5 separate regions of the Homo sapiens genome follow, and regions 1, 3, 4 and 5 are each linked to region 2. Evidence: promoter capture Hi-C in human tissues and cell types (Jung and others, 2019). All regions are on one chromosome and are shown on one strand. Each heading gives the region's core, a stretch centred on a gene start or on the middle of the fragment in contact. The rest is flanking DNA. Distances are from core to core; before and after follow the strand shown.

Region 1 (4,341 bases), core at 565-3,064, 330 kb before region 2:
GTAGTTTTAAGCTAAGGGTTAGTGAAAACATGTATCAATGAGCCCTTCATCTTCAAATATCAAGTGAAAAGGAAAGTTTTCTAATATGAGAAAGTGAGAAATTCTTCTGTTCATATCATGTTAGACCTTTTCTAGAAAACTTGATTGCCACCTCAGCATCTTATCTCAAAGTCAGAAAAATAAACTGGGTTCAGGGTCAAAAAAACCCTTTGGCACAAAACACTGTAATTCAATCCTTTTTGCCTTCCTCCAAACTACTCATCAATTCAGTAAGAGAAAATTTATTTTGAATAATGTCAGCTTCCTTTCATTATTATTACATCAAATGCTTATGTTTTTTTTTTTGTTTCCCTTTTTAATTGACTGCATTGACCTTCTATGAAGACAGACTTTACGTTGTACTTAATAAAAACACCACAATGGAAAGGCTGACAGAATGGAAGTCAGAAGACTCCAGTTTGACTCGAGCTCTCTAGTCCTCTGCCTTGAACCCATGATGTAGCTTAACATCTCAGTTTTTTCATCTCTCATATTCCGATTTTAATGCCAGCCTGAGAAGATAGCTTTGAGAACAAAATAAAATAACACACATTAAAGAATTTTAAACAGAAAAAAAATGGTCCTATTAATTAGTCTGTGAAAGAAAGGACAGTAGTCAAGTTTTTAAAATTCTAGGTTATTCACAATTTATATTCAAATTAAGAAACCCCATAGTCATAGTCTGGGACCTTCAAAGCTTTACGAGCTCAATATTTTCCCAACTAATGTGACTGTGCCATTTTTCAAATGTGAGCATCTCGCTGCTTAGATATTCTATAGAGTAAAAATTTGGAAGATGATGTAGGCTATATTAAATTAAAACATATAGTGATACTGTTAAAGCTAATTTGAAGCAAAGTTAAATTTTAGTTAAGTTTGTTATTACAACTGGTCTTTACACTTATTGTTTAGAACAAAGGTGATGCCCAAACTGTTAATAATCAGATTTTAAACAAATAGAAAATTTTTATTTAAGGGATACTCTGATGCTATAATTTTCTATATCTTTATCATTATGAGTAGTTATAATGAATTTTCCTCATTTTGTCCTAAACAACAACAAACCCAAATTTTTCTAACAGGAAAAATATTAAATCAATTTTTTCTGTTTTTTTCTAATCTTTTTACATAATCTCTTAAAAAGGGGAAATATCCCTCTCCTGCCACCTCTCCAACACAAATTCTGATTTTTATGAAGGAGAATCTGTTCTACACACACTCTTGGCCTCTCTCTACTCCTTCACTATCTCTGCCACTCGGGAACACAGTGGTATATCTGACAAATGTGAGGAGGATAACCGTGCATGTTAAACTCAGCTCCACCCAGAACAAGCTGGCCCCCAAAAGTAGAAATTCCTCTCACCTTACTCCATCTTCCATGGGAAGGTGATCCACATGAAAAGCATATTTCCCCAACTGTTGGGTAAGTCAGCCCAGTCCTTGGGTGTGGATTTCAGACCCATTTGGCTCTTACAATAAATTACATCCTCGTACAGAGTCTCTATCAATAAGCAAGTTGATATTTTGGCCTGCAAATTTACTCTTTATTTGTGACATTGTGTAGAATGGATAGAAAAGAATGTTGCTATTATTGAGGGCTCACTTTTCAACTCCAACAATCTATGTTACAAATTCTTATCAAATCCTAAGGAAAAAAGAACACTCAAAACTGTCTACTTTCTTCACAGAACATGCCCACTGGTGAGATATACTTAGTGGAAAATGTTAGCTTCACACTGGTCTTATATTTTCAAGTTTAGCATTCAAGGTGCTTTGGACTAATTAAGAAAATTGTGAAAAATATATGTCAGCAAAGAGCTCATACAATCATTTTTCTCTATAGAAATAGCATCAGTTGGCTGGGTGTGGTGGCTCACGCCTGTAATCCCAGTACTTTGGGAGGCTGAGGTGGGTGGATCAAAAGGTCAGGAGTTCAAGACCAGCCTGGCCAAGAAGGTGAACCCCTGTCTCTACTAAAAATACAAAAAAAAAATTAGCCAGGCTTGGTGGCGCACGCCTGTAATCCCAGCTACTCGGGAGGCTGAGGCAGAGAATTGCTTGAACCCGGGAGGCAGAGGTTGCAGTAAGCTGAGATCATACCACTGCACTCCAGCCTGGGTGACAGAGTGAGACTCTGTCTCAAAAAAGAAAAAAGAAATAGCATCGGTCTGGGCCCCCCCAAATTATTTGTTCTTCATCTTATAATCAAGCTTAGATCCTTTATTTAAGTTTCCCAGTTAATGTTATGGCTTTCAGAGAATTATCAGCTTATTTTTATTCTGTGTCCAATCCCATGTATAAATATTACCCTTGCTTACCTATGATTATTAAAGCCCCTTTATTGGCTGTCCTTCCTAGTCTCACTTATCTACCTTTCAAATAAATTACTTGCATTCAAACTAGAAGGAGCATCTAAACCATAATACACCTCATTCTATCTACAGGCAAGATATTTTATTTCTTCAACTGGGCCACCAAAGCAATTTATCTTCTATATCATATCATGTTGGTATGATATGGTATAATATAATTATATCTCTCATGAGACAAATTGTTTTTACCTCCTACAATGTGGAATTTCTTTTAAAAAATTAGTTTGGTGTTCTCAGCACCTATTATGATGTCTAGAGCATTGTAGGGGCTCAATAATTGCTTTTTATGTAATTTTTTAAAAAAAATTGACTGCAATAATGAGCCTAATATTTAAAATATTATTTGATCTCCTCAAATACTGGTAATACTAACAGAGTGAGAAATCAGTAACACGCAGAAAAAGACAAATATATTTTGGGTAAGGTAAAGCTAAGCAGTGGTTGAAAAATGGAATATTAAGAAGAAATTATAACCATGCATTAGGCTTGCCAGTTGAATCTGTCGTATATCATGAACTAGTGGTTTTATACGAAAATCAATATGTTCTCTAAAATATGTCTTCCTATGCAATTTATTCACTCAAAATTTAAAAATTACTAAAAATAATAGTTTACCTGGTTTTCACAGCATTAAAGATGTCTACATTATTTCACACATCATGCCCTACTAATGTCACTATGCTATGTGCACATTCTTTTTCTTATGAATAGACAAATTTCTTTTCTCACATAAAGGTTTAAATAAGTTAATAGTAAAAAGATTTTTTTAAGTTCCCTAAAAAAATTAATCAACACTAATCCATGCTTATATGCCTATATTATAGGCATATAGGCATCTACATATTTAGGCAGATGCTAGAAGCAAATAGTCACCTTGAGGGAGAAACCCTCAAATCACAACTGTAGCTATGTCGAATCAAAACTGTAGCTATGTACCTCTGCCATTGTTTTGAGTTCTTGGTTAAATATTTAATCATGACCCCATAATTCAAAATAAGGGTATAATTGAAAAGTGAGTGCATTTTTAAATGTTAATATTCAAATGCTACTGTACAATGTTAATGTATCTAGGTCATCAGAGTGAAATATTTAATGTACATTATCTGAAATGAAATATTCATATCATCTTCAAATATAAATAAATGTTAGAGTTCTTAAATTTCTTTATATAGTTTTACCAACAAAAAATAAAATATATACTCAGAGATATATTAGCATATTTCCCAGACTACTAAAAAATTAGTACCAAAACTTCTGTTTAATTATGTCCAAAAATTAAGACCAAAATGAAAGCACAAAAGGAGCACCCAGTCTGGAATCAGACTGTCAATGTCTACTCTCTTAACTTCTATGAATCTCAGTTTCACTACCAATAAAACATGAGTGATTGCATCTATAGCTCTCACAGGTTTACTTCCAGGATTGAAATAGAGAATGTGTAAAGTGCCTAGGATAGTAATTGGGACCTAACGTGCATTCAATAAATGTTTCTATGGTTTCCATTTAGTTATCAAATTGGAAACTGATCACTCTTATATGCTATATAAGTACTTCTGTAGGACACTTGCAGAGGGTAGAAAAATAAAATAAATGCATTTGTCATTGAGGCTACTGATGAGAATATACCGACTCATTTTGCCAACCAGTCCTGGCATTTTATTTTTATCCTGTCTCATCTAAATCAATCCTTTCAAAAGAAGTTAAAATTGGTTTATTTTATAAAAGATATGATCCTTTCTAGATTAACATACATCATCCATTCCTAGCTCCAAAGGACATGAAACTCAGGCAAAGGCCACATTTCATTGATTAACACAGAAAAGGAAACTTAGTAGCTTAAATGTCTCTTAACATTCTTAAACATTTGCATATAATTATTTGATTTTCTATATAATTTAATGAAAGCATCAGAATAAAGGTGAAGTGTAAA
Region 2 (4,345 bases), core at 474-2,973:
TGAGCCGCGTGCAGGCTGGTTCGGAGCCCAGGCTTCTCCGGCAGCGAGACCTGCCCTTGTGTTGGGTGGCCCGGCGGCTCGGACTAAAGGCGGCGGCTGGTTCTTCGCCAGCCCTGGCAGTGCTCACACACGTACACACCAGCAGAGAGAGATAGAGGGGAAAGATAAAGGGAGAGAGAGAGATTGAGCGAGGGGGGCGCGGTGAGAGGAAGAGGTAGGTAGAACTGACCGCGATTAGGTGCTAGGTACCTCAACACGTTCGGTGAAGTGGGGGTGGGGAAAGAGAATGCAATTTGCATACAGGAAAGCAGGGATCAGTTTACCCATTCGAACCCCTGGCGCACACAGAGATACCCACGAATGCTCACAGTCACATCTCTAGCACTACTTTTTTCGAGCCAAAGGGTACAGCCGGTCGCTAACTTCTAGAGAAGAAGCCTCCTCCGAGCTGTGAGGGTCACCTGCCAGGCTTGTTCTCTTTCCTAACCAGCGCCCCTCCCTGCCGTCCCTTCCTCGTGCCCACCACCCCGCTCCCAGGTGTACCCTCCGGGAACAGCGGAGGCAAAGGGTACGTACCGCACAGGACTTGGGGCGAATCCTGCGAGAAGGGACCGCTCTGGGCAGGCTCCATGGAGAAGCTACTCGGGCCTGGCGTCTCCAGCGCCCCGGACGTGCCCTCCCAGGCGCTCCGTCTCCATGCTCGAGCGCAGACGGGTCCGGCTGCCTCGTCCAGCTTTGGCGGAGTCGCCGTCCCAGTGCCCGGGTCGCGCTCAGGATTGGTTCGCGGGAGCCAAGGCTTGGCACAGTTGGATTCACGGTGCAGGAAACTTAAGAGGCAAGAGAGGGAGGGAGCAGTAGAGGAGGAAAGAGAGGAAGACAGAAAGGGAGGGAGAGCAAGAGGGAGGGAGAGAGGGGAATGCGCCGGGCTGCTGCACCGGACGGACTGGGACTGCCAGCGCTGGCACCCGGACGAACAGTCCAGGACTCTCGGCTTCCCACAGCTGCCTGAGGATGGTGGAAATGACTTAAGGGGAGGAGACTGAGCAAGTCCTCTGGACTTGAAGTGGAGAGATAAGACACTGGCCTTTCGGAAGAAAAGAGAACCACACGGCAGACGAGAGCAGTCCGAGTTTCTGAGGGAGGGGTGGGGTGGCGAGAATCTGGAGCCTGCGGCACACGGAGCAGCTGTACCTCTACCCGCGACGCTGGGAAGCCCAGGAGCCGGTCCCCAGTGGAGTCCCGGGCGCTGTCCCTGGTGCTGCCCGGCCACCCGGGGACGCTCTGGAGCGCTTTGGGTTTCCGGCGGCCGCGGTGGTCGTGGTTTCTCCGCAGAGCCGCGGCTTGGCACGCCTACCTTCCTGACACGGACAATTACTTTGGCACGTGGGTGAATGATTCCTCAAAGACTAATTAGTACCCTGTGTAAACAGATCCGGCTCTCAGGCTCTCGCGGGCTGGGCCCACAGGGACAAGTGGCTCCCGCGGTGTCTTCGGTGGCCGCAGCGCCCCCTTCCCGGGGGGCGTAGGGAAGATCGCAAAGCCCAGGGGAGTGGCGGGAAGAGCAGCCGGGAGTCGCGTAGGGCGGGGAAGGGCGCGGGAGGGTGCAGGGCGCCCCTGCCGGCCTCGAGCGCCGACGCCGGGCGCCTCCGACCTGTGGCTGCCGGGCCGGAGGCGGGGGAGCCGCAGACTGCCAGCCATTCAGCTCGAGACAGCCGAGAGGACTGGGCGACCTTGGCCTCTGGACTCCTCGCCGCCGGCTGGGCTGAGCGTGAAGGGGGAGGAGGAGGACGGGGGATGCTTCGAGCCGTCACCACCTCCCTCGCTACTGACACCTCCCACTCAACCAGCGTCTCCCAGACTCGGCCTCTGTGCTCCGACTCTGGCTGTCTCTGTCTTTCTCAGTCTCTCCCTTACTGTCCCTATTTCTCAGTATCTTTCTCACTCCCTCTCTCTCTCTGTCTCCTTCTTCTGTCATTCTTGTGGTCTGCGTCTCTGTCCCTCAGCATCTTTCTGCCTTTTTCTGCCTTTCTGTGTGTCTCACTCAGGATTTCTGACTCTAGGTCTCTGTATCTCTGTGCCTCTACCGTGTCCCTGCCATTCCCCCTCAAACCCTGTTTTGTTTTTTGTTTTTTTTCCTCCACCCTTCCAGTGCACCACCACCAGAGCAGTTTCACCAGTCTCGGGAGACAGCCAGGACCAGCTTCTTCTGGTGCTGGTGGGGTTGCCAGTGCTCCTTGAGCTTGCCCAAATTCAGGGCACAAATCGGAACCCGGAAGAGGGTATCTCTTCCCCAACCTTGCCCATTGCATCTCCAAGCCTGCCCTTCACCAGAGCCTCTCCTGGGGTGATGCACATATCCATATCAATCTGTAGGAATTGTATGGAAATTTATCTCAGGAACCTGAGTTAGTGACATCAAAATCGAATTGTGATATTTAATGAGTCTGGAATGTCCTTTCCTCAAGTGTGGCTGTGGACACTCTGGCAGGTCTGGGCCTAGATACAATGTACACTCTAGACAATAGGTCCCAGGCTGAATTCCCCTGGATGATGGAGACCACCCCTCAAACAAGGCAGTGACAATCAGCAGAGCCACCCAGTCCTGCAGCAGAGGCAAGAGGAGCCCCACTGAGACCTTCCCCTGGAATCAGATCTCCAAAGACCTCCAAATTAGATCCCCACTGTAGAACATACCTACCAGCACTTTGAGGTCTACACTCTCCCTTCCAGCTAAAAATAACTCTTTAAAGAGCAAGCTCTTCTAATCTTAAAAGTTGTACTCTGCTGCTGTGACCTCCTGGAATTCATTGGGGCATATGCAGAATAAAGCAGTGAAGCACACCTTCTAACTGTGTCTCTGAAAATCCACTTCAGAAAAAACGCACATGTACATATAGCATAATTACAATGTTTTCTTGACTATTTTCACTTACCAGCTATTTCATTTTCTTAAAAACTTTAAACTTTAAAGAAGAAAAATTAAAGTATTGGGGCACCCGTATCTGAGGCCAAATGGTCAAAGCAGGGGCAAAAAAAGCTTTGTCTAATTCCATCCTCTAGGATTCATAAGGCTATCCTAAAATTGATTCCTATTTGTACAGGAGCTCCCAGGCCTCCCAGACTGGAGTGTAGAGCTGGAGCAAATGTTGCCTGCCTCTATCTGGATTCCCAGCTACAATGCTGTCAGAGCTGAACTTCTGTCTGACCTTTGGGAAAATGAGAAAGAATCCGGCTAGCTTTGGAATATACCAAGTTCTTTTCTAAACCTTACTTTAAAAACATTCTGCTTCTAGTGCCATTTAGCCTTAAAAAAATACTGCTTGTGAAATAGAAAGATGATCAGAGACCTTAAAATGTCTGTCTGAATGGGACTGATTATTTAAGAAAAGCACCACAGGCACCTAGTAATGGGAACAGGTTTGACACTTTGTTCTATGACACAGGATGCCAAAGAGCTTTTTCTGTTAATGACCTGAGATCTTCTGCCCAGACATTCAACCTTCGCTGGATCCTATGAGATACTTGGCCTGTGATATAAAACAGTGGCGGATTGTCATTTTTCATATTTCACAGGGGTCTTCATCTCCTATAATACTCAACCAGAAAAGGATACCGAGCCACCAAGTAACACAGAAAAATGTATCGTTTCTGCTAAACCACTCCAGTTTTAATAATATAATATTGGGGGAGAAGTGGACAAGAATGGTTCATTCACCCTCCTTTTTTCCTATCATTTGCTTTATAAAGAACAATGGAGCAATAAAAGCATGATTTTCTTACATTCTTCTGTTTCAAGTAGTATCCTACTCTAAAATGCACTCTTAGAATACATGAACAGTCAGCTTCATTGAGTGAGAACAAAAGTGTGATTACCTTAAGAAGTATAGTGTTTGTACCAATTTTTACTGACTTTACTCATGCTGAAAATTCTTTCAGAAATACTGTTTCCAAACTTTGTGTGCAATGCAACTTAATACAGATATAAACTTAGTATGAATGATAACCACTGTAAAACACAACCCTCTGCATCTGCTTTTCCCCATGTCTACCTGGTCCAACCTGAAATGAACAGTACGAGAAATAATATAGATCTTTGTCTCTAAGAAATATATTTTTAAAGGGTTAAAATGGGCTGCATCAAAAGAAAATAGTGAAATTAACTTTCCTGAAAGTTAAAACCAGAAGAAATTAAACTAGAATCTTCTGACATATACTGATAGTTCTGTTAAATGTAATTATCTATTTTGGTTTGGTTCATTTGTATGATTCTCTTTTTTGGCAGGGGAGAGGGAAGGGAGAGGTTTGAATTATCTTGGGGCTGGAGAGAAGAGAGACATAAAGAGAG
Region 3 (4,559 bases), core at 195-2,694, 360 kb before region 2:
TGATGAACATAGATGCAAAAAAATCTTCAACAAAATATACCAAACCAAATCCAACAGCACAACAAAAAGCTAATCTACCAAGTTGGCTTTATTCCTGAGATGCAAGGTTGGTTCAACATACACAAATCAATAAATGTGATTCATCACTTAAGCAAAAACCACATGATCATCTCAATAGACACAGAAAAGACTTTTGAAAAATTTTAACATCCCTTAATATTAAAAACTACCTATAAACTGGGCATTGAAGTAATATACCTTAAAACAATAACAGCCATCTATGACAAATCCAAAGCCAACATCATACTGAATGGGCGAAGGCTTGAAGTATTCCCCTTGGGAAATGGTACAAGAAAATGATGCCCACTCTCACCTCTCCTATTCAACATAGTACTGGAAGTCCTAGCCAGAGCAATCAGGTAAGAGAAAGAAAGAAAAGGCATCCAAATAAAAAGTGAAGAAGTCAAACTATCTGTTTGCAGACGATATGATTCTATACCTAGAAAACCCCATAGTCTCTGCCGAAAAGCTCCTAGATCTGAAAAACAACTTCAGCAAAGCTTCAGTATACAAAATCAATGTAAGAATATCAGTAGCATTTCTATGCACCAACAAAGTACAAATTGAGACCCAAATCCTAGTCACAATAGCCCATTCACAAAATCCTATACACAATGAGAATGTAATCCTATTCACAATACCAAGAAAAGAATAAGATACCTAGTAGGAATATCACTAACCAGAGAGGTAAAATATCTCTATAACAAGTATTATAAAACACTGCTCAAATAAATCAGAGATGACACAAACAAATGCAAAAACATTCCATGCTTATGGGTAGAAAGAATCAATAATGTTAAAATGACCATACTATCCAAAGCAATTTATAGAATCAATGCTATTCCTACCAAACTACCAAAGATATTCTTCAAGTAATTAGTAAAAACTATTCTAACATTCATATAGAACTAAAATAGAGCCAAAATGGCCAAGGAAATCCTAAGAAAAAAGAACAAAGGTGAAGGCATCACATTACAAGACTTTAAAATACTATAAGGCTACAGTAACCAACACAGCATGGTACTGATACAAAAATGGACACATAGACAATAGAACAGAATAGACAACCCAGAAATAAAGCCACACATGTACAACCAACTGATCTTTGACAGAGTAAACAAGAATAAGCAATAGGAAAAGGATTCCTCATTGGCTAACCATATGAGGTATGGTTATGAAGAATGAAACTGGACCCCAACCTCTCACCATATACAAAAAAGAACTCAAAATTAGTTGAAGAATTAAATTTATAAACAAAAACTATAAAAATCCTAGAAAAAACCTGGGAAATATTCTTCTGGTCATTGGTGTAGGGAAATAATGTATGACTAAGTCCTCAAAAGGAAATTCAACAAAAATAAAAATTGACAATCAGGGTGGAATTAAACTAAAGACCTTCTGAACAGCAAAAGAAACTATGAACAGACAACCTACGGAATGGGAGAAAATATTTACAAACTATGCACCTGACAAAAGGAGTAACATCTGGAATCCACAAGGAAAATAAACAAATCAACAAGAATAAAAAAACAAATAGCCCCATTAAAAAGCAGGTAAAGAACATAAACTTCTCAAAAGAAGACATACAAGCAGCCAACAAATATATGAAAAAATACTCAACCTCACTAATCATCAGAGAAATGCAAATCAAAATCACAATGAGATACCATCTCATACCAGTCAGAATGGATATTATTAAAAAGTTTTAAAATAACAGATATTGGCAAGGCTGCAGAGGAAAGAAAATGCTTCTACATTGTTGGTGGGAATATAAATTTGTTCAGCCCCTGTGGAAAGTAGTTTGGAGAGTTCTTGAACTAAAAATAGAACTACCCATCAACTCAGCAATCTCATTATTGGGTATATACTCAAAATAATAGAAATGGGTCTACCATAAAGACATTTGCATGCATATGTTCATGGCAGCACTATTCATCATAGCAAAGATGTGGAATCAACCTAAGTGCCCACCAATGGTAGACTAGAAAAAGAAAATGTGGTATATATACACTATGGAATACTATGCAGCCATGCTAAAGTACAAGATCTTGTCCTCTGCAGCAACATGAATGGAGCTGGAGGCCATTTTTCTAAGGGAACTAATGCAGGAACAGAAAACTAAATACTCCATGTTCTTACCTATAAGTGGGAGCTAAACACTGAAAACACATGCACACAAAGGAGGAAACAAGAGACACCAGGTCCTACTTGAGGGTGGAGGATGGAAGAAGGGAGAAGAATAGGAAAACTGCCTATTGGGTATTATGCTTATTACCTGGGTGATGAACTAATCTGTACACCAAACCCTCATGACATGCAATTTACCCATATAACAAACCTGCACATGTACTCCTGAACCTAAGATAAAAGTTTAAAAGGAGAACATTTCTCATTTTAAGTTAAAAGCACATTTGTCTTAATTTTACCCTACCTCAGTAAAAATTATGTTGTATTTTCATTTTAAATTTTCAGTTGCTTTTGTGTATGCTTCCATAGTCCATACATATACATTTATATAGCATAAATAAAGTTGTGTTGTTAATGTTTACTTGCCAGTCTTCCCTACTAGACAGTAAGCCCATCGATAAATAGAGAGAACTCTCCTGTATATACTATCTCCCTAATACTCAATACAGTAGAAATTCAATAAATATACATTTAGATTTAAAGCTTTTACGCAGTGAAAGTCCTTCTCAAAATGAAATATTTTGATAAGCCAAATATTTTCAAATAATGTCTTTGTTTATTCAAATACTAATTGAGCATGGACAATTTCTTTGAGAAATGTGCTACAAAAGTTATTTGCTGTTGTTTTTTGGTTTTGTTTTGGTAGAAGTGATTTGAACATGCTCAATTGTCACTGCAAATAGTCCAGTAGATGGGGGTATTGGATGTAATTAAAAGGAAAAGGTAAGAAGACAAGCAATAGCCTACAGTTTCTGAGAAAACAGATGGAGTCACTTTAGTCTTGGCCAGGAGGACATGAAGGACCAGTTCTTCCACTGTAAGAGGGAGAGGACGATGGGTAGAAGTACAGCGACATTTGGGAATTGGTTATTCTTTTGTCTATTTCTCTTTTTTTCCCTCTATAAATAGAAAATAAGATAATACGCTGACATTGAGGAATTGAGTGGGAATGTATATATTAGACATCTGAGAAGAGTATAGAAACTTTGAAATATCAATGTGCATAGTGGGAAGATTGCCCAGAGGTACGAACCATGATTGCCAACAATACTAAGAGTTTGTCTGAAGTCATGTTATGATTTTTAGAAGAAAAAGTATGTTATATTATAATATTTTCTCAAAGACCTTTGTGCTACCTGGGCACCAGTACAAGTAAAGCAGACAGTTGGCTTCATCTAGGAATGGGATTCTGCCATAGAGATGTGACAAAAAGAAAGTGAAAAGGAATTTATGATAATAGTGACTTTATTGATGTAATATAACTTAAAGTTTAAACTGAATATAAGGGTTGCGAATAGAAGGGAAACATGATGAACTGGAAAATGAGTTGGCAGAATAGGAGGAGCCAAAAAGATCTATGGATGGGCATAATGAGAACTACTGAACAAGTATGCTGAAAATAGAGGAGAATTGGGTCAGGAAGTTAGATCCTTGAATTAGCAGTTACAGGATGGGGCACTTATAGGGGCAAGGCATGAAGAAGAAAGTAGGTTGTTAAGGTGAAGAGGAAAAGGAAGTCATTGGAAATAAGGAAGTCAATGAATTGACATGTGAAAGATAATGGTCCACCTTCCATATAGATTATAAATCACTCAAGATTATGAAACTGTTTTAGTTCAAAGGGAATGGGCCACTGAGCCTTATTCTGGTATTCATCTGTGCTTTAGTCATACCTCTGTGGAAACCTTGGCATCAAGGGCTTGAAAAAACATAGGTTTAATTTTGTAAATGGTCTTTTTTTAAATTTTTGGTGTTTTTTTATTTTTCTGCCAGTTTCAAACCAAAACAGATGTTCAACGGAGGGGGCATCATTTAGGGAAGATAGCTCCTGAGATGAGGCCATATGTCAAACCATAATTATATAAATCCTTTGAAAGCTAGTTTGAATATTTCCATTGCTGAGCCATTACTCCAACATCAGAATGGTAGTGCCTTCCCATCAGCTCTACTGCTACTTCACCCAAAGCTAGAAGCCGTGTGGACAAGAAGACCATTATCCTTCGCCCCTAGTTATAATCCTGGATCACCCACAGGGAAGACAATATGTTCCTGCAACTATCAACGCTCATCCTTACACACACACTAAAGTGGAGAAAAAAACTCCAGAAAGCTTTTTTTCCACACAAAAAAGGCAAGAAGGGTTAAATTTACGTGTTTTGCTTCTAGGGACATTGATATTCTCATTATTAAGGAAGCAAAGTAATGTACTAAGGGTGCAGTTTCTGAAAAGAGAGGACTAAAACAGCACAAATAGAAACAAGACAAATACCCACTTCAGAATTGCTAGCAGAAGGTGAGGAGAGGTTAAGTAC
Region 4 (4,154 bases), core at 1,064-3,563, 310 kb before region 2:
ACTGTGAACTCTTTGAGGCTGCTAGCTCGAGTACAGTTGCATCTGCTGTGATCCCCAAGGCAATAGCAATGCCCTCATGGAAAGATGCAGAGGGCCATTGTGTGCAGAGATGAAGGAAGAATAGATAACACTGACCAATGGAGAATCAGTCTCTGGACTATTGTCAGGGCAAGGTCACATCTAAGAGAAACACGGACCAGCCTCGTGTATGCAGTCAGTCCTTTTAAAGTGTCTGCTCCCCACAATAAGCAAACACCCTGCTGTGGAGTCAAATGGGGCTATCAGACGGCCATTAGTGGTCTTGGGGAAAATATAGGAAATTGACAGAAGGTTATCTTCGCTGCCAACTTTTTTTTAGTTGTAAGTACTTCCCTTTCACTTTTGCTCAACCCTTGCTTTGGTATCTCTCCTTTCCCCTATGTACCCAAACTCTTTCCTGTTTACAGATTTTCTTCATACCAAAATAGTATCGCAGAAATGGACCACATTCAAACAGTAGAAATGACTAATAACAGCAAAATCGTTGCTTTAGCACAAGTAATTTTTAATAAGGACTAAATATTAATTTCTAATAGGATAAAGTTGAAAGGAAAAATATTCCTTGGGAGAGGAGGATTATGCATAGGAATATATAACTTTTCTTAAGAAAAAAGCAATACATTTCCAATCTATCCTGACAATAAAGCCATTCCATTATGGAAAAATATTTACTCTCACATCAAAAGGATTATCCTTAGCAGCTCCAGAGTTAGTATTTTTCATTATAGTTATAAAACTAATAAAAACAACTACAGCTTTCCCACTCATTTTCTGAAGGTACTGCATTTCAAAAGATACTATTTTTCTGTAACACAGAGTAGCTATAATGTAAAATTTAAAACTAACATTAATCAGTAAAAATAGTACATACCTTTGGATTTGGGAGACTGTGTGTGTGTGTGTGCGTGAATAAAATCTAATTGATTAAACATCTGAATCTGCACTTGCCTAGTTACATAAGCATTGCCCTTATCACAGTTCCTACATTTATGCCTCAGTATAAAACAAATACATGTGTATCCTCTTCTCTGGCTTTTGCCTGGAATTATCTAGACAGTTTCCCATTGTTTGTGTGGCAAAAAGAATAAATACAGGAATGCATTTAGTAGTGGCTTAGTGCTTATATCTCAGCATCAGCAAAGGGCTGTATTGAGATGCTTTCATGATGCACTGGCTAATGAAGCAGTAACGAAATTATCCCAAAGAAGGAGGAAAAGAGGGATTTACAGCTCAATTTACCAGTAGCATAGGGGGAAATGAAAGTAAAACTTGTGGAAGTAGTGAATATGGTTTCAAGAAGGAAGAATCAATCTATTCAAAAAGTTGCTAAGACTCCTCTGACAGACAAACCTCTGATTTTCAGGTAGAATAAAAATTGTTTAGTTCTAAATTATGTTATCCACAGCTGTAGTAATTATGGGAGTGCACTCTGGAGTCAGACTGCCTGAATCCCAGTCCAGGTTCTGATCTTTAACAGCTGTGTGATGTGGGCAAGTTACTTAACTTGTTTAAGCTTCACTGTTTCTCTCTTCTAGGGAATAGAAGAATAATATCAATCTTCTTCACAGGGCTGTTGTGAGGATTAAATAGGGCACTCCATTCAAATTACTAAGGACAGTACCTGGAACACTGTTCAATAGTCGTCTTAGCTGTTGTCATCACCAGATATTTTTACCTCTGAATCTCACTACATAATATTTTATGTAAATTATTAATTTATAATCGGATTTAAGAGCATAAAGCATTCTTGAAAGAAAATCTCCCTTCAATATAACCACAAACATAAAGCAAACAATTAAAAAAAAAAGCATGCTGTGGGGGAAAGCGGGGGAGAAGAAAATGGGGAGAAAATGAGCATAAAGTTTTAGTTAATCAGGTTGAAATAAATTCTAGAGATCTGCTTTGCAACATTTGTACTTATAGTCAATATTGTATTTTACAGTTTAAAAATTTGTTAAGAGGGTAGAACTCACATTAAGTGCTCATACCACAATAAAATAATTTTTTAAATTTATATTAAGGATAGCATCAATATATATTGAACTCCAAACAATGTAACATGAATTGAAATGTTGAAAAGGAAAGAAAGCAAGCATATATTTTTGAAAGTGCTGCTGTGACTGCCTAAATATATGGCAAATAAAGTAAGTGATTGAACTCAAGTTAGCTAAAATTATGCTCATCCTTTGTTATTAAACAGCTTAGCTTCCAAATGCAATGAATTATTTGCCTTCAGTGATATAATGGGAAAGGCTTCAAGTGGTGCTGACAGTCAGGAAGCCTCTCTGGAACATCTCAGTGTGGGTAAAGAATCAAAGCAGGTTTCAGCTGTAATCATCATTAACACTGTCTTAAATATTCTTATTCCCTCAGTCCTTGCTTTTTACTTAGGAAGGGAGTAGGGCAATGTCTAAAAGAGAATATAAATCTGGAAAAAAACAGGAAGGTTCCTTAGCAAAGTCCCCAGAGCTGTTCAAGACTAACAACTCCAATTTCTTTTGTCTTATTAACAAAATAGCTGTATAGTGAGACTACAAGAATATTGAGTGGAATAAAGAAATGCAAACATCAATGGCACATGGTCCTGGCTCTCGAGAAGTTCACAGTCTACTGGAGGCATCAATTAAGCCATCACAGTGTGATGCAACCAGCACTATGTGTAACATTCCAGCAATCATAGTCAAAGTTGAAAGGTAGAGAAGGTATAACAGAAGAGATGATCCTTAGATGTGGTAGATAAAAGAGGCTTGGTACTTTAACAGCTAGTGCATGGGCCAGAGGAGTTCTTCCAAGAATAAAGAACAGGGCCGGGGACAGTAGCTCTCGCCTGAAATCCTAGCACTTTGGGAGGCCAAGGCAGGAGGATAAAGAGGTCAAGAGATCAGATCATCCTGGCCAACATGGTGACACCCTGTCTCTACTAAAAATACAAAAAAAAAAAAAAAAAAAAAATTAGCTGGGCGTGGTGGCACATGCCTGTAGTCCCAGCAACTAGGGAGGCAGAGGCAGGAGAATTGCTTGAATCAGGGAAACAGAGGTTGCAGTGAGCCAAGATTGCACCACTGCACTCCAGCCTGGCGACAGAGCAAGACTCTGTTTCGGGGCAGACAGTGCCAAAGCACAGAGCAGAGAAAGGACGTGTCAAATGTAAGAATGAAAAAAAAACTTATTATTCTCTAACTAAAATTTTACATTCATAGACAAACATCTCTCTACTCCACCCACCCCCACCCCCCAGGTATCCACCATTTTACTCTGTTTTTATGAGTTCAACTTTTTTACACTCCACATTTAAGTGAGACCATGCTAAGAGAGTAGATTTTAAGCATTCTCACCATACACAAAAAACAAGTATGTGAGATAATGCATATGGTAAATAGCTTGATTTAGCCATTCCACAATGTATACATATCTCATAGCCTTATACTGTACACCATAATTATACACAATTTTCACTTGTCAATAAAGAAAGGGGAAAAAAAGAAAATAGCTTCTTACTGCTGAACGCCAGGGAGCATTACTTTAGAGGAGAAATAGAAGAGCTTGCCAAAAACTTGTAGAAGGCAGGCTACGGCCAAATCGTAAAGGTGCTGCTAAGGCATTTAAACTTAATCTTACAGGAAATAGGGAGTCACTACATTTCATTTTGTTTTCTTTTTAAGTAGGTCATCCTGGCTCTAGAAGAATCGCTGAGTAGATATTAAAGGGTGGTTTAATAGAGACCTTGAAGGAAGGGAGACTAATTAAATAACTAATTGCAATATTTCATTTGAAAAAGAAGTGAACCTGAACCAAAACAGTAGCAGAGAAAAAGAGGAAGAAATGATGGATCTAAGGGATAATTCAGACGTAGGATTAACTAAGCTTGATGATTCTTGGCTAAATAGAAACATAAAAAAGGTTGAGAAAGCTTGCTTGCATCTGCAAGGAAAACAGTGGTAACAAGTTGGCTGGAAAATAAAATTAAAACTCATAGAAATATTGGGAGATTAAGCGCCTGTGGGAAGTCATTCTGGTGATGCCATCCACTAGGAAACTGGGAACAAGGATCTGAAGGTCTGGAGACATGAGAGGGATGGTGATGTTGATTTTGTAGTATGAGTAGATGGTATTGT
Region 5 (4,514 bases), core at 1,530-4,029, 410 kb before region 2:
TGATGCTTCATCTCCAAATAAAGACTTAAAAAGTAAAAGTCCATCTAATCAATTGTTACAGAGGTCCAAATATCCAACATATTTCTAAGGTGATAAAATTGGCTCATCATGATCCCGTCAATTACTCTGCAATATCTGCAAAAGCAATTAATTAGGTTCTTTATTAAGTGCAGGCTATCATAATGAATAAGCACATCATTTAATCTTTACACAATTTTTTGATGCCAGAAATACAGCAAATCTTCCCAAAAAGACTTCTAAAATTATAATGCAATCCACTATGAAAGCTTCCTAATCCTAAAGTTACTTTTAAGCATAGTTTTGTGCTACCAGCTGAGTTGCTGTTTTTTTTAGCTCTCTCTTATAAAATATTTCTTTTTTCCTGTTTCTGATCCTCTAGCTTGCTGGGCAGCCACATGCCTGGCAGGATTCTTTAGTCCTAAACTAATTGGCAAAAATCCTCCTGGGAAGATGGATTTCTAGCATTTTAACATCTCAGAGTACATCTGTGATCTTGCCTATGTAAGGGCTGCTGGACATAAGCAACTCAATGTTCAGTTTGTCAAATGATGCAATTAATATGAAACAAGATTTTTATTGTTATATTTTTCCTAGAGCCCTCCTGGTGTTTGCACATTAGTATCTGAGTGAATTTCATTATTTTTCTGAGTTTATTATTATATTCAGGACACTTAATCTTCTTTTTACATTCAAACTAGAATACCATTCGTTTATTTTTCAAGTTGGTCTCACGGAGATGATATACTCTCCAAGTCATATTAAATCCTACAGCAAGGGATAAAATTTGTTTTTCCCTAATTAATTCAATTTTCTTATGTATATTTGCTCTGTCTACATGTTTTTCTTTTCTTTTTCCTTCTTTTCATTCCATCCTTGGTGACATTTCTCTAAAAAGAAATTAGCCCACTCAAAGGAAAAATAAAATGTATATTCAAAATAAATGTGCTCCTACACTTAGGTATGAATGACCTCCTCCCTCATCTGTTCATATCATTGGTTAGCATGTAAATCATGCAAAACAGCTCACAGTTTTAAAGTGTCAATAAGTTCTTAAACATAAAGTATGATTACAGAATAATAATGCTCTCCAATCCCATATCACTTTAGACCGAGACCAAGACTGTCTGAGGGGCTTGAGCTAATGATCTCACTATTTTTTAATGTTCTCTTAGTTCTTATTGATTGTCCTTCTTGCCATTCATTATATATATTTTTTCCTTGCAGGTCAGGATTTTATATTCTACTTATAAAATATTTCAAGGTAAAATTTTATGTACTAATTAATTACAAGTTTGTATCTGGCATAAATATGACCTGCAACTTAGTTCATTATACCAAGTGCTCAACAAGTCAATGCTGCGAGATTTGGTAAGGTGCTCAAATTGATGTGTGTTCAGAAACAAAACAAATACTTATTGCATGAAACTTACCTATAGAACACTAATAATCCAGAAATGAAATCCTGAAACCCATTAAACTCTTATTATACAACAAATAAACTGCAATTTATTAACAAGTATCTCAAAATCTTCTCAGTTTATCTAGAGACTTTCACACTAGCTCAGTCTTCACATATCTTATTTTGTACACCATATTCATCTATGAAAATAATTGAAGATTACTATTTAAAATTAGTATTAATTTACACTCACATAACACAATTCAAATCCCCTTAGCTATACAGGAGAGTAAATGAATTTTGGAATTCAGACAGAAAGACTCCAAATAAGATATTGTCTTATTTCAAATGGAAAAACATGCCAAACTCATAGAACAGAAGAATTAATATTAATATGACCAAATTGCCCAAAACGATCTACATATTTAATGCAATTCTTATCAAATTACCAATATCATTCTCCACAGCATTAGAAAAAATAACCCTAAAATTAATGTGCAACCAAAACAGAGCCTGAATAGCCAAAGCAATCCTAAGTAAAAAGAATAAAGCCAGACGCTTTATAATACATGACTTCAAACTATACTAGAAGGCTATGGTAACCAAAACAGCATAGTACTGGTATAGAAATAGATACATAGATCAATGAAGCATAATAGAGATGCCAGAAATAAAGCTTCACACCCACAACCAAGTGATCTTTGACAAAATCGACAAAAACATACACTGGAGAAAGGATTCCAATTCAATAAACAGTGCTGAAAAAACTGGAGAGCCATATGCAGAACAATGAAACTGAACCCCTATCTCTTACCATAAAAAATAGCCCAAGATGGATTAAAGACTTAAATATGAGACCTGAAACTATAAAAATCCTAGTAGAAAACCTATTAAAAAAACTCTTCTGGACACTGGTCAAGGTAAAGAATTTATGAGTACATGCTCAAAAGAAAATGCAACCAAAACAAAAATAGACAAATGGGAATTAATTAATTGAAAAACTTTTGCACAGCAAAAGAAGTAATCTAAAAACAGGCAACCTACAAAGTGGGAGAGAATAATTGTAAATAATGAATTAGACAAAGAGCCAATATCCAGAATTTACAAGGAACTCAAACAACTCAACAAGAATAACACCAAATAACCCCATTAAAAAGCAGTCAGAAGACATGAACAGGTATCTTTCACAGGAAGATATACAAGCAGCCAACAAACATACGAAAGAATGCTCAACATCACTAATCCTCAGAGAAATTTAAATCAAAACCACAATGAGATACAATCTCATACCAGTCAGAATGGCTATTACTAAAAAGTCAAGAAACAATAGATGTTGGCAAGAATGCAGAGAAAAGGGAATTAGTATAAACTGTTGGTGGGACTATAAATGAGTACGACTTTTATGGAAAACAGTATGGAAATTTCTCATAGAACTAAAAATAGAAATACCCTTTGATCCAGCAACCACACTACCGGGTATCTACCCAAAGGAAAATATCATTATATCAAGAAGACACATAAACTCATATATTCATTGCAGCACTATTCACAATAGTAAAGTCATGAAATTAACCTAGGTGCCCATCAATAGTGAATTGCATAACGAAAATGTGGGACATACACACCATGGAATGCTACACAGCCATAAAAAGAATGAAACCATGTCTTTTGTAGCAACATAGATGGAACTAGAGACCATTTTCCTAGGTAAAATAATACAGAAGCAGAAAGTCAAAAACCATGTGTCCTCACTTATAAGTGGGAGATAAACAATGGGCACACATGGACATATAGAGTGAAATAAACAGACATCAGAAACTTTGAAAGGGAAGGGAAGAGGATTGAGGGATGAAACACTACCTATTGGCTACAACGTACACTGTTAGTCTGATGGGTGCACTAAAAGTCTGGACTTCACCACTATGCATGTAATATAACTACACTTGTACCCCTAAATCAATACAAATACAAAATTTTTAAAATTCTGTTTTAATTCATAAAGCTATCTTTAAAAATTAATTACTAGTTAGAACTACAGTGCTCTAGGGCTATAAGATAAATTTGGTTTCAAGATCATTTCTAAGAGTACATATATATATGTGTGTGTGTGTGTGTGTGTGTGTGTATATATTTACGTGTAATATGCACATGTAAGTGTATATTTGGCTAAATTAAAAAAGCTATTGTATTCCTACATTATAGGTCTATTGCATAACTACTTTTCAGAGATCGACTATAATATTCAGATGACATCACCATTTCTAGAATTAGCTTTACTATCTGAATAAGGGTTATAAGAAAGAAAGAAAAGAAATTTCTGTTTCGGAAATACAGCAATTTGCAGCGAAAAAGAGCCTACTGTTTGTTGTAATTTAGATATATCTGGAAGAGGCTAGTAAATATTGGATATTGCCTAAATGCAATTTTATTCAAAGTAATCTATCATGAAAAATGAAGAGATCATTTCACGATATGATTTTACTGTTGTGACTGTGAAGCAAACATTATAAATCATTTACCCTGGGCTTAGGTCATTAGAAAGAAGAACAAAATCATTGAACTACTGTTGCTTGAGATAACACTGTTTGAAATTAAAGGATAGCTAGTTCTTTCATTCTTGTCATTTTCAGGGAGCAATGCTATTTGAACAAAAAAACATTTTTTTAAACACTCTTCATGTGGCAAAGAACTACTATAATTTAAAAATTGCCACTCACTAATCTTCTGTGAGTATGATATCTTATATCCAATACCAAAGGCTGGCTGCCCAAGAATAACAAAAATCAACCTGTACTGTCTGGACATTCTGGCTGATATATTAGTTCATGAGGTTTAATAAAAGTTTCCCCTCAAGTAGCTTAATTTTTAAAATCAAATTGCTTCTCAGTAATTGTTTGTTCTATAATGCAATTAATCAATACTTGCAACTTATCCATTTCTCAGTGAAGAAAGGAAATGTTACTAAGAAAACAAGGGTTCAGTATTTTTATGTGGTTGCTTGGCAAACAACGCTGGCAAGAACTTTCACTACTAAAGCTCATGTTTTTAACTTCCCAAGCCTTTGGGTATATAGCACAAATGGAAGCAAAGAAAA

What was found. The method cuts DNA at HindIII sites, captures the fragments that hold promoters and counts their contacts. A contact is called where the count stands out against the background at its distance.
Region 1: a contact is called between a fragment that was not itself captured here and the fragment with the promoter of NXPH1 in region 2, in 3 of the 25 tissues and cell types used here (H1 embryonic stem cells, adrenal gland and hippocampus).
Region 3: a contact is called between a fragment that was not itself captured here and the fragment with the promoter of NXPH1 in region 2, in 1 of the 25 tissues and cell types used here (lymphoblastoid cells).
Region 4: a contact is called between a fragment that was not itself captured here and the fragment with the promoter of NXPH1 in region 2, in 2 of the 25 tissues and cell types used here (H1 embryonic stem cells and bladder).
Region 5: a fragment that was not itself captured here is called in contact with the fragment with the promoter of NXPH1 in region 2 in 1 of the 25 tissues and cell types used here (neural progenitor cells).

The regions. Positions count from the first base shown.
Region 1 is chr7:8,765,732-8,770,072 of GRCh38, reverse strand. No RefSeq gene overlaps it. Among named protein-coding and RNA genes, the nearest start is that of NXPH1, 330 kb to the right of the region's middle. The HindIII fragment of the contact is 3,150 bases long and covers 240-3,389 here.
Region 2 is chr7:8,430,987-8,435,331 of GRCh38, reverse strand. It overlaps NXPH1 (neurexophilin 1), which reads right to left and starts at 1,723. Exons shown (of 3, transcript NM_152745.3): 1 at 577-1,723. RefSeq lists enhancers at 1-63, 64-611, 612-1,159. The HindIII fragment of the contact is 8,604 bases long and covers 1-3,758 here.
Region 3 is chr7:8,786,008-8,790,566 of GRCh38, reverse strand. No RefSeq gene overlaps it. Among named protein-coding and RNA genes, the nearest start is that of NXPH1, 350 kb to the right of the region's middle. The HindIII fragment of the contact is 4,201 bases long and covers 1-3,544 here.
Region 4 is chr7:8,744,557-8,748,710 of GRCh38, reverse strand. The region is part of intron 2 of NXPH1 (neurexophilin 1); the gene reads right to left. Among named protein-coding and RNA genes, the nearest start is that of NXPH1, 310 kb to the right of the region's middle. The HindIII fragment of the contact is 3,936 bases long and covers 346-4,154 here.
Region 5 is chr7:8,837,319-8,841,832 of GRCh38, reverse strand. No RefSeq gene overlaps it. Among named protein-coding and RNA genes, the nearest start is that of NXPH1, 410 kb to the right of the region's middle. The HindIII fragment of the contact is 3,174 bases long and covers 1,193-4,366 here.